Regions from separate parts of the Homo sapiens genome. Here region 1 is linked to region 2. Evidence: promoter capture Hi-C in human tissues and cell types (Jung and others, 2019). All regions are on one chromosome and are shown on one strand. Each heading gives the region's core, a stretch centred on a gene start or on the middle of the fragment in contact. The rest is flanking DNA. Distances are from core to core; before and after follow the strand shown.

The links. Contacts are between HindIII fragments. The study calls those that stand out against the background at their distance.
Region 1: a fragment that was not itself captured here is called in contact with the fragment with the promoter of BTC in region 2 in 1 of the 25 tissues and cell types used here (lymphoblastoid cells).

What each region holds. Positions count from the first base shown.
Region 1 is chr4:75,500,956-75,504,557 of GRCh38, forward strand. All of the region lies in intron 3 of RCHY1 (ring finger and CHY zinc finger domain containing 1), which reads right to left. Among named protein-coding and RNA genes, the nearest start is that of RCHY1, 12 kb to the right of the region's middle. The HindIII fragment of the contact is 6,037 bases long and covers 1-3,602 here.
Region 2 is chr4:74,792,926-74,796,713 of GRCh38, forward strand. BTC (betacellulin) reads right to left here and starts at 1,598. Exons shown (of 6, transcript NM_001729.4): 1 at 1,337-1,598. The coding sequence starts at 1,400. The HindIII fragment of the contact is 8,112 bases long and covers 1-3,788 here.

The DNA.
Region 1 (3,602 bases), core at 479-2,978, 710 kb after region 2:
CTAACCAGTTTCTCAAATATATATTTATAATTTTTATACATACTATATACAATAAAATATGTATATATTTTTAGACAGAGTTTTGCTCTTGTTGCCCAGGCTGGAGTGCAATGGCACGATTTTGGCTCACTGCAACCTCCCGCCCACGGGTTCAAGCAATTCTCCTGCCTCAGCCCCCCGAATAGCTGGGATTACAGACATATACCACCACGCCTGGCTAATTTTGTATTTTTAGTAGAGACAGGGTTTCTCCATGTTGGTCAGGCTGGTCTCAAACTCCCAACCTCAGGTGATCTGCCCGCCTTGGCCTCCCAAAGTGCTAGGATTAGAGGCGTGAGCCACTGCGCCCAGCTCTTTTAATATTTTTATTATCTAAAAAATAATAGTCATTATTGATGATCATATGTCATTTGACTAAAGACAGTATTTGTCAAACTTAATAGATTTTGCTTCCAATATCTTTTGGCAGATTTTTTAAAAATCAAAAGAACTCAAAAATCCTCGAGGGTAGTTTTTCAGTATGCCATATGCACTCATTAAAAGCAACTGCAGAAAATAAACATTTCAAATATTTTTGAACAATGACAAAAGATAAAATGCCTCCTAAAATGCCTACTTGAAGTGAACATAATTATTTGTCTATAACGTGAGTCACATATTACAATACCCAATAACATAAAACAACTTTTCTATTTGAAAATTCTGTTATTCTATACATTAAACATCTCCTAATTATGTTCCACTGAACATGAAAAGGATTCTATAATCAAATACTGTTATTAGAAACTCAATATACTTGGATATTTGCACTGTACAATTAACAAGTTAAAAGTTCTGAAAAGGCTCAGTGCGGTGGCTCACGCCTATAATCCCAGCACTTTGGGAGGCCAAGGTGGGAGGATCACCTGAGGTAGGGAGTTCAAGACCAGCCTGACCAACATGGAGAAACCCCATCTCTACTAAAAATACAAAATTAGCCAGGCATGGTGGCACATGCCTGTAATGCCAGCTACTCGGGAGGCTGAGGCAGGACTTGAACCCAGGAGGCAGAGGTTGCGGTGAGCCAAGACAGTGCCATTGTACAACAGCCTGGGCAACAAGAGTGAAACTCTGTCTCAAAAAAAAAAAAGTTCTGAGAAGGGATTTTGATTAAATTCAGCATTTAACAAAGCTTTTATGACTGCAAAAGCCTTTTTATACAATATTCACTCTGTACCCAGGTCTAGTTCTTTTTTTAATCAATTCTGTTTTAAAGATGAATATTTTGTGACATTTATTCTTTCTTTAGAAATCTTCCAAAGAAGGCCAGCTGCGGTGGCTCACACCTGTAATCCCAGCACTTTGGGAGGCCAAGGCAGGTGGATCACGAGGTCAGGAGATCGAGACCATGCTGGCTAACACGGTGAAACCCCGTCTCTACTAAAAATACAAAAAATTAGCCAGGCATAGTGGCGGGCGCCTGTAGTCCCAGTTACTTGGGAGGCTGAGGCAGGAAAAAGGCATGAACCCAGGAGGCAGAGCTTGCAGTGAGCCAAGATCGCGCCACTGCACTCCAGCCTGGGCGCCAGAGTGAGACTCCGTCTCAAAAAAAAAGAGAAAAGAAATCTTCTAAAGAAGAAAATCTACTTTTTCTTTAATAGAATAAACTCATTCTATTCTGTTTGCAATTATCATATGGGTCCATTGAACCCTTTCATAAATCTGATACATTATGGAATCTTAATCTTATTTTTCCTAATTTTGGTATTTCAGCATCCTAGGAATCCTTTCACATTATCAATCATTCCCAACTATCCTAACAAAAAGACTAAAATGCAAAGCATGGTAGAAAGACCTTTCATGTAGAAACATGAAAGAATGACATGAAATAATCACTAATGCATAATCCTTCGGTTTTCTTTCTGTACTGCTCAAAGTATTACATCATCTTTCCAGAAGGCATTAAAGAGTCCGCAGATACCTTCTTTGTAGTTTTCCTTGAACACAGTTGAGAAATCAGAATTTTTCATTTTTCACAAATAGAAAAAAAAAAAGGAAAATTTAGACAAAGCAGAAAATAAATGCAAAAAGGCAGATAACCATTCTAGACTGAAGGTTCTCCACCTAGGCAATATTTACATTTTGAACCAGATAATACTTTGTAGCAGGAAAGCGTCTTGCACATTATAGGATGTTTAGTAGCATCCCTGGTCTCTATCCAGTAGATGTCATTAGCATCTGCTACCCCTCACTCCCTGGTTACAACAGCTGAAAATGTCTCCAGGCATTGCCAGATATCACCTGGGAAAAAACTCTCCCCAGTTGAGAACCAGTGCTCTGGACTCTAATTATAATGATGGTGAAATCAATCCTATAAGCAATAAATCAGATTATGATTTTCAGATGATGTACCATATGAATGGTCTCACTGAAAAAAAGGAATGAACAATATATTTCTAAGGACAAAAAGAAAATATGGTGGCCAGGCACAGTGGCTCACACCTGTAATTCCAGCATTTTGGGAGGCCAAGGTGGGCGGATCACGAGGTCAGGAGATCAAGACCATCCTGGCTAACAAAGTGAAACCTCATCTCTACTAAAAATACAAAAATTAGCTGGCTGTGGTGGCGAGTGCCTGTAATCCCAGCTACTAGGGAGGCTGAGGCAGAATTGCTTGAACCCAGGAGGCAGAGGTTGCAGTGAGCCGAGATCACGCCACTGCACTCCAGCCTGGGTGACAGAGTGGGACTCCATCTCAAAAAAAAATTAATTAAAAAAAAAAAGAAAATATGGTATCCTCACTTAGTCATTTATTAGGAAGGACTTCAAATTACATTATTTCATGACAAAAACCTGGACATCCTTAAAGAATGTGTGATAATATTCTTCCATCTTTTATGACGTTTGTACACCAAAATTTACTTAATATGGTTCATAAGTGGACAAACGTTGAAGGCAGGTACATATGTTAAAGTACTTAAAAGGAAACAGATGATGTAAAAATGAAAAAAATTCATTAAAATGTTTTGCAATTACAGAGCATGCAATTATGAAGAAAGGTCGTCTTTTCTTCAACCAAATTACGACTCTCAAAGTTCTCAAATGTATTTGAATTTGGTAATATGTGTACAGAAGTAATGATAAGCCAAGACTTATCAGTGGTGTATTTGAGATCTGGAATTAGTATTGCATTTTGATGATACAAATACAAGAAGAACCAGAAGTAATTACAAGCTAGAACCTATTAGAAATGTATCTAAAATCTAGTATCAGTTATTTACACGATGCACATGTGCCAGATTCAAGCATGACAACTGACAAGTAAATACAGTTGACCCCTTGAACAACACAAATTTGAAGTACACAGGTCTACTTATAAGCAGATTTTCTTCTACCTCTGCCACCCCTGAGATAGCAAAGCCAATCTCTCTTCTTCCTCCCTCTTTTCAGCCTACTCAACATGAAGAAGGATGAAGACCTTTATGATGATCCATTTCCACTTAATGAACAGTTAACATATTTTCTCCTTATGATTGTCCTAATATTTTTCTCTAGTTTATCCTAAGAATATAGTATATAATACATATAACATACAAAATATGTATTAATTGGCTATTTGTGTT
Region 2 (3,788 bases), core at 348-2,847:
TCATGTTTTATTTTAGGAATCTCATGAGCCCTTTCCCCACCTCCATTGCTACATACCTCAGCACCTTGCTGACTACGACAGATTCTCAGGGAATACTTTGACTGTTGGATAGTTTAGACACGGTGGAGGAAGAGAATGTCAGCTACTTGCAAGCAATGCTGGCAAAAGCATCAGTACTATTTCTAGGGTTAAGTCTCAACCCCATTGCTCTTCTTCATGAATGTACACATTCACTCTACCACTAAATTGTTACTGACTCCTTCCTCTTCAGCGTTTGTTAAATAAGTTTATTTTCTCTAACCTTGGTCCTAAGTCTGATCCACCTCCAAGCAAGTTCACTGTACCTTTTTAGCCACCTCTCTTACTCCAAGGACACAGTCAAATGAAAGTTTTCATTTAGGCTCCCCCTCTCTTTCCTCAATAAGAGGAATTCCCATTCTTTTTCATTTGTGGTGTCCCCTTCCCAGGCTTGAAGGTAGGAGTGATATCGTGGTGACACTTCAGCTGTGGAGACTCTCCTCCTACCACATAAATGCTCCAAACCCAGATGTGTCTACAGCCCAGCTAAGATTAGAAAATGTTACTGGTTTCCCTTCCCTTCTCTGCCCCGCAAAATGACCATGATGCAGAGAGCAAGCTTTGAAGAGTTGGGATTTTTTCCTACTTAGAAGCCTTCTCACTACCTTCCCTCGGTGGAGGGGAAGGGGAAGCCTGCTTCCAGCCACATCTGAAGTTCCAGCTCTGCTTTGTGAGTTCTGACTCCTAAGGAGGCAGGAGAGACCCTCTGGAGGGCTCTAGGCATCCTGCTACTCCTCCTCCCGCTGGCACTCTTCCCTAACGCCAGGTGATCACACCTTCAGTCAAAGAGTTCCCGTTCTTCTGCCTCCTGCAGGATATGCTTCTTGGTCTATACTACCACGTGAGCTTCTTTAGTGGGTTTCCCTGCTCGCCCCTGCCCCCACCCCCCGACCCTCACTTGCGAGCACAGCGCCTCACCCCGGTGGACAGCCCGCCGGCGCCGCCAGGCCCTCTGCTGTGCGCACAAGTCAGCAGCTGGCGGCCTGCTCGCAGCACTGGCAGCGAGGACCTCGGAATCGCTTCCGCCCTCGGGCCTTCTCACGCGTCTAGGGACTGCCTCCAGCAGGTGCAGCCCCAGGTGCCCAATTGCCAGATCTTTAACCTCGCGCTCTCCCAGCCTTCAAAGTTCTCCAACCCGCGCCTGCCAGCCCCAGCGCGCCCTCTTGTCCAGATGCCAGCTCGGTTCAGGGTTCGCCCTCCCCGCGACTCCAGCCCCAGACTTTCCTCCTGGTTTCCAGTGCCCAGCACGGCCACTTACCCAGGGCAAGGGCCAGGAGCAGTGGCAGGGAGCTGGCGCCGCTGCACCGGGCGGCCCGGTCCATCAACCCCGCTCTGCCGGGCCGGGCAGCCCCTAGACAAGTCTCCCTCCTTCTTCGCCCCCTTCCCGGGCCTCGGGCGCCTGAGAGGGTGCCTGGAAACTAATCCCGGAGGCAGAAGGAAACGAAACTACTTCCCAGGCTGGCACCCTGGCTACAAGGCAGGGAAACACCCAGGGCGGGAGGCCGGCCGGCTCCGTGAATGTCGCCGGGAGGAGGGAGCCTCCTATTTATCCCCCCTCCTCCTGCACACACCCCGCCAAAGAGGCGCAGGACTTGGTCCTGGGAGCCTCCACGCTGCTCCCACCCAAATTGCCCCACACCCATACCCACACCCAGGGACATATTCGGGCTGCCCTCGGACCAGCTCACCACTCCCCCTGCTGGGTCTCACCTGACTGACTGTTCATTTCCCTACCCCCTAGGGCGTAAACAAGGTAGGGAGGGAGATGTAAAGAATCCGCGTGGAGGGGTGTCGGGGGTTCCGGTCGGGCCTGCAGGCTGACCTAAACTCCTGGAAGCCACCGAGGAAGAGTCAGAGACCCAAACGTGTTCTGGAATTCTAACTTCCTTTATTTCAGAGGATTGCTAGTGTCATGGAGAAACCAGACTCACCATTCATTGTGGTTGACTTCAGGCATTTGATAATGCAGGCAATTTCAAAAGAGTCATTGTTGCCTTTTAAAGTCTTGAAGCCATAGCGAAACCTCGTCTCTACAAAAAATACAAAAGTAAATTAATAGCCGGGTATGGTGGTGTGCACCTGCAGTCCCATCCATTCCCTGAGGCTGAGGTGGGGAGGATCGCTTAAGCTTGGGAGATGGAGCCTTCAATGAGCCTAGATCGAGCCACTTCACTCCAGCCAAGGCGCAAGAGTGAGACACTGTTTCAAAACAACGACAACAACAACAACAACATCAGCAACAAAAAAAAAAAAAAAAAAAAAGAAAAGAAATGAAAAAAGTCTTCAAGCTAGTGTCTTAGTTTCTGGGTGCATTGTCTTCTAATAATTCATAAAATTGGGGCTCACCAGGACCTACTTTAGAAATTTCATTTGTATTTCTGTTTATGAATTTACTCATGTATTCAGTATATTTTCATTTACTTGCATTAAGCAATTTCTGGAACAGAAAGACATCCTCACAGCTTTTAGAGAAAGCAAGCAGCATCCAATTTTACCTTATGTGGTTATATATTGCCTCCAAGATAACCAAAAGATACAGCTGCTTTTGTACTGGTCTGTGTTCCTCATATAAGATTTATGTGGATAATTATGCCCCTCAGTACAGAAATTTTATTTCTATAGCATCCAAAAGTCATGTAAGCCTTATTTTACATATGAAATGTAGTTTGGGTGTCTGCCTCTTCCTCCTCATCCTACTGTTTAAGTTAAGTAAATTGTTGTGCACTTGTCTCCCACGAATAACATTTCATTTCAAAACTAAATTATTTTACTGCCCCAGGCAACTGATATATCCGGTGGAATAAAAATCAGCTCTTAATTTTCAGAATCCCATTCTAGTCCCACATGACAGCTCATAAAACATTGGTAGAGAGGGCAGGCATGAAGTTTAAAGAAACCCAAAGTTGTAAGATGGAAGGTTACTGCACCCCAGCTAAAAAGAGCAGAAACACTGGAAGCCAATGGATTTTGACATCATCTCCCTCCCTCTCAACACTTCCACCCTGCATTTTTCTTTTCTGATATTCTCTCCATCTCTCAGCACCAGTGCCCTAAGTTAAAGTATCTCTTACTCCAAGATGGCATTTAGCCTAGCCAACAGCTGTCCTGTTAGCCCCAACAGAATGCTACAATTTTGTTTTCCTTTTTCGTAGATACTAATAAAAAAAAAAAAAAGCGAGACCTAAACAAAAAGTACTAAATGTTTGTTGAGCATTGGAAAATTCCAGGACTTGGTGTAAGTATTCATCATTTATGCCATTCAAGTGGTAAATTAACTTTTTCAGGCCACTAGAATATGAAGTAGTATAATTTAATATACTAAATAGGACAGATAAATTAATAACCTTCCTTGAGGGCTTTATTTACCACCATAAATAAAATAAGTACTCCCAAGAAAATCCAAATTTTCTGACACTGGATATCCAATCTCTTCAATGTTAAGAGACTTTTCCTGTCTTTTTTTGTTTGTTTCTTTTTTTTCCCCTCACTTTCTTTCTCTCTGTTCTTCCTCCTCTTCTTCCCTCTCCTTCTCCTTCTTCTTTTTCTCCCCCAGCCCCCAACCACCTCTCTCTCTCAAGTCATTTGCTTATGGGGCATGGTAAAGCTGGAATACAACCATTACATTTGGAAGAGTGGAAGGTAAGAATTGATTTTCCTGAGTCCTCAAACATGTAACTGAGTTGCGTCTCAGTGCTTTCATTTGCAAGCTG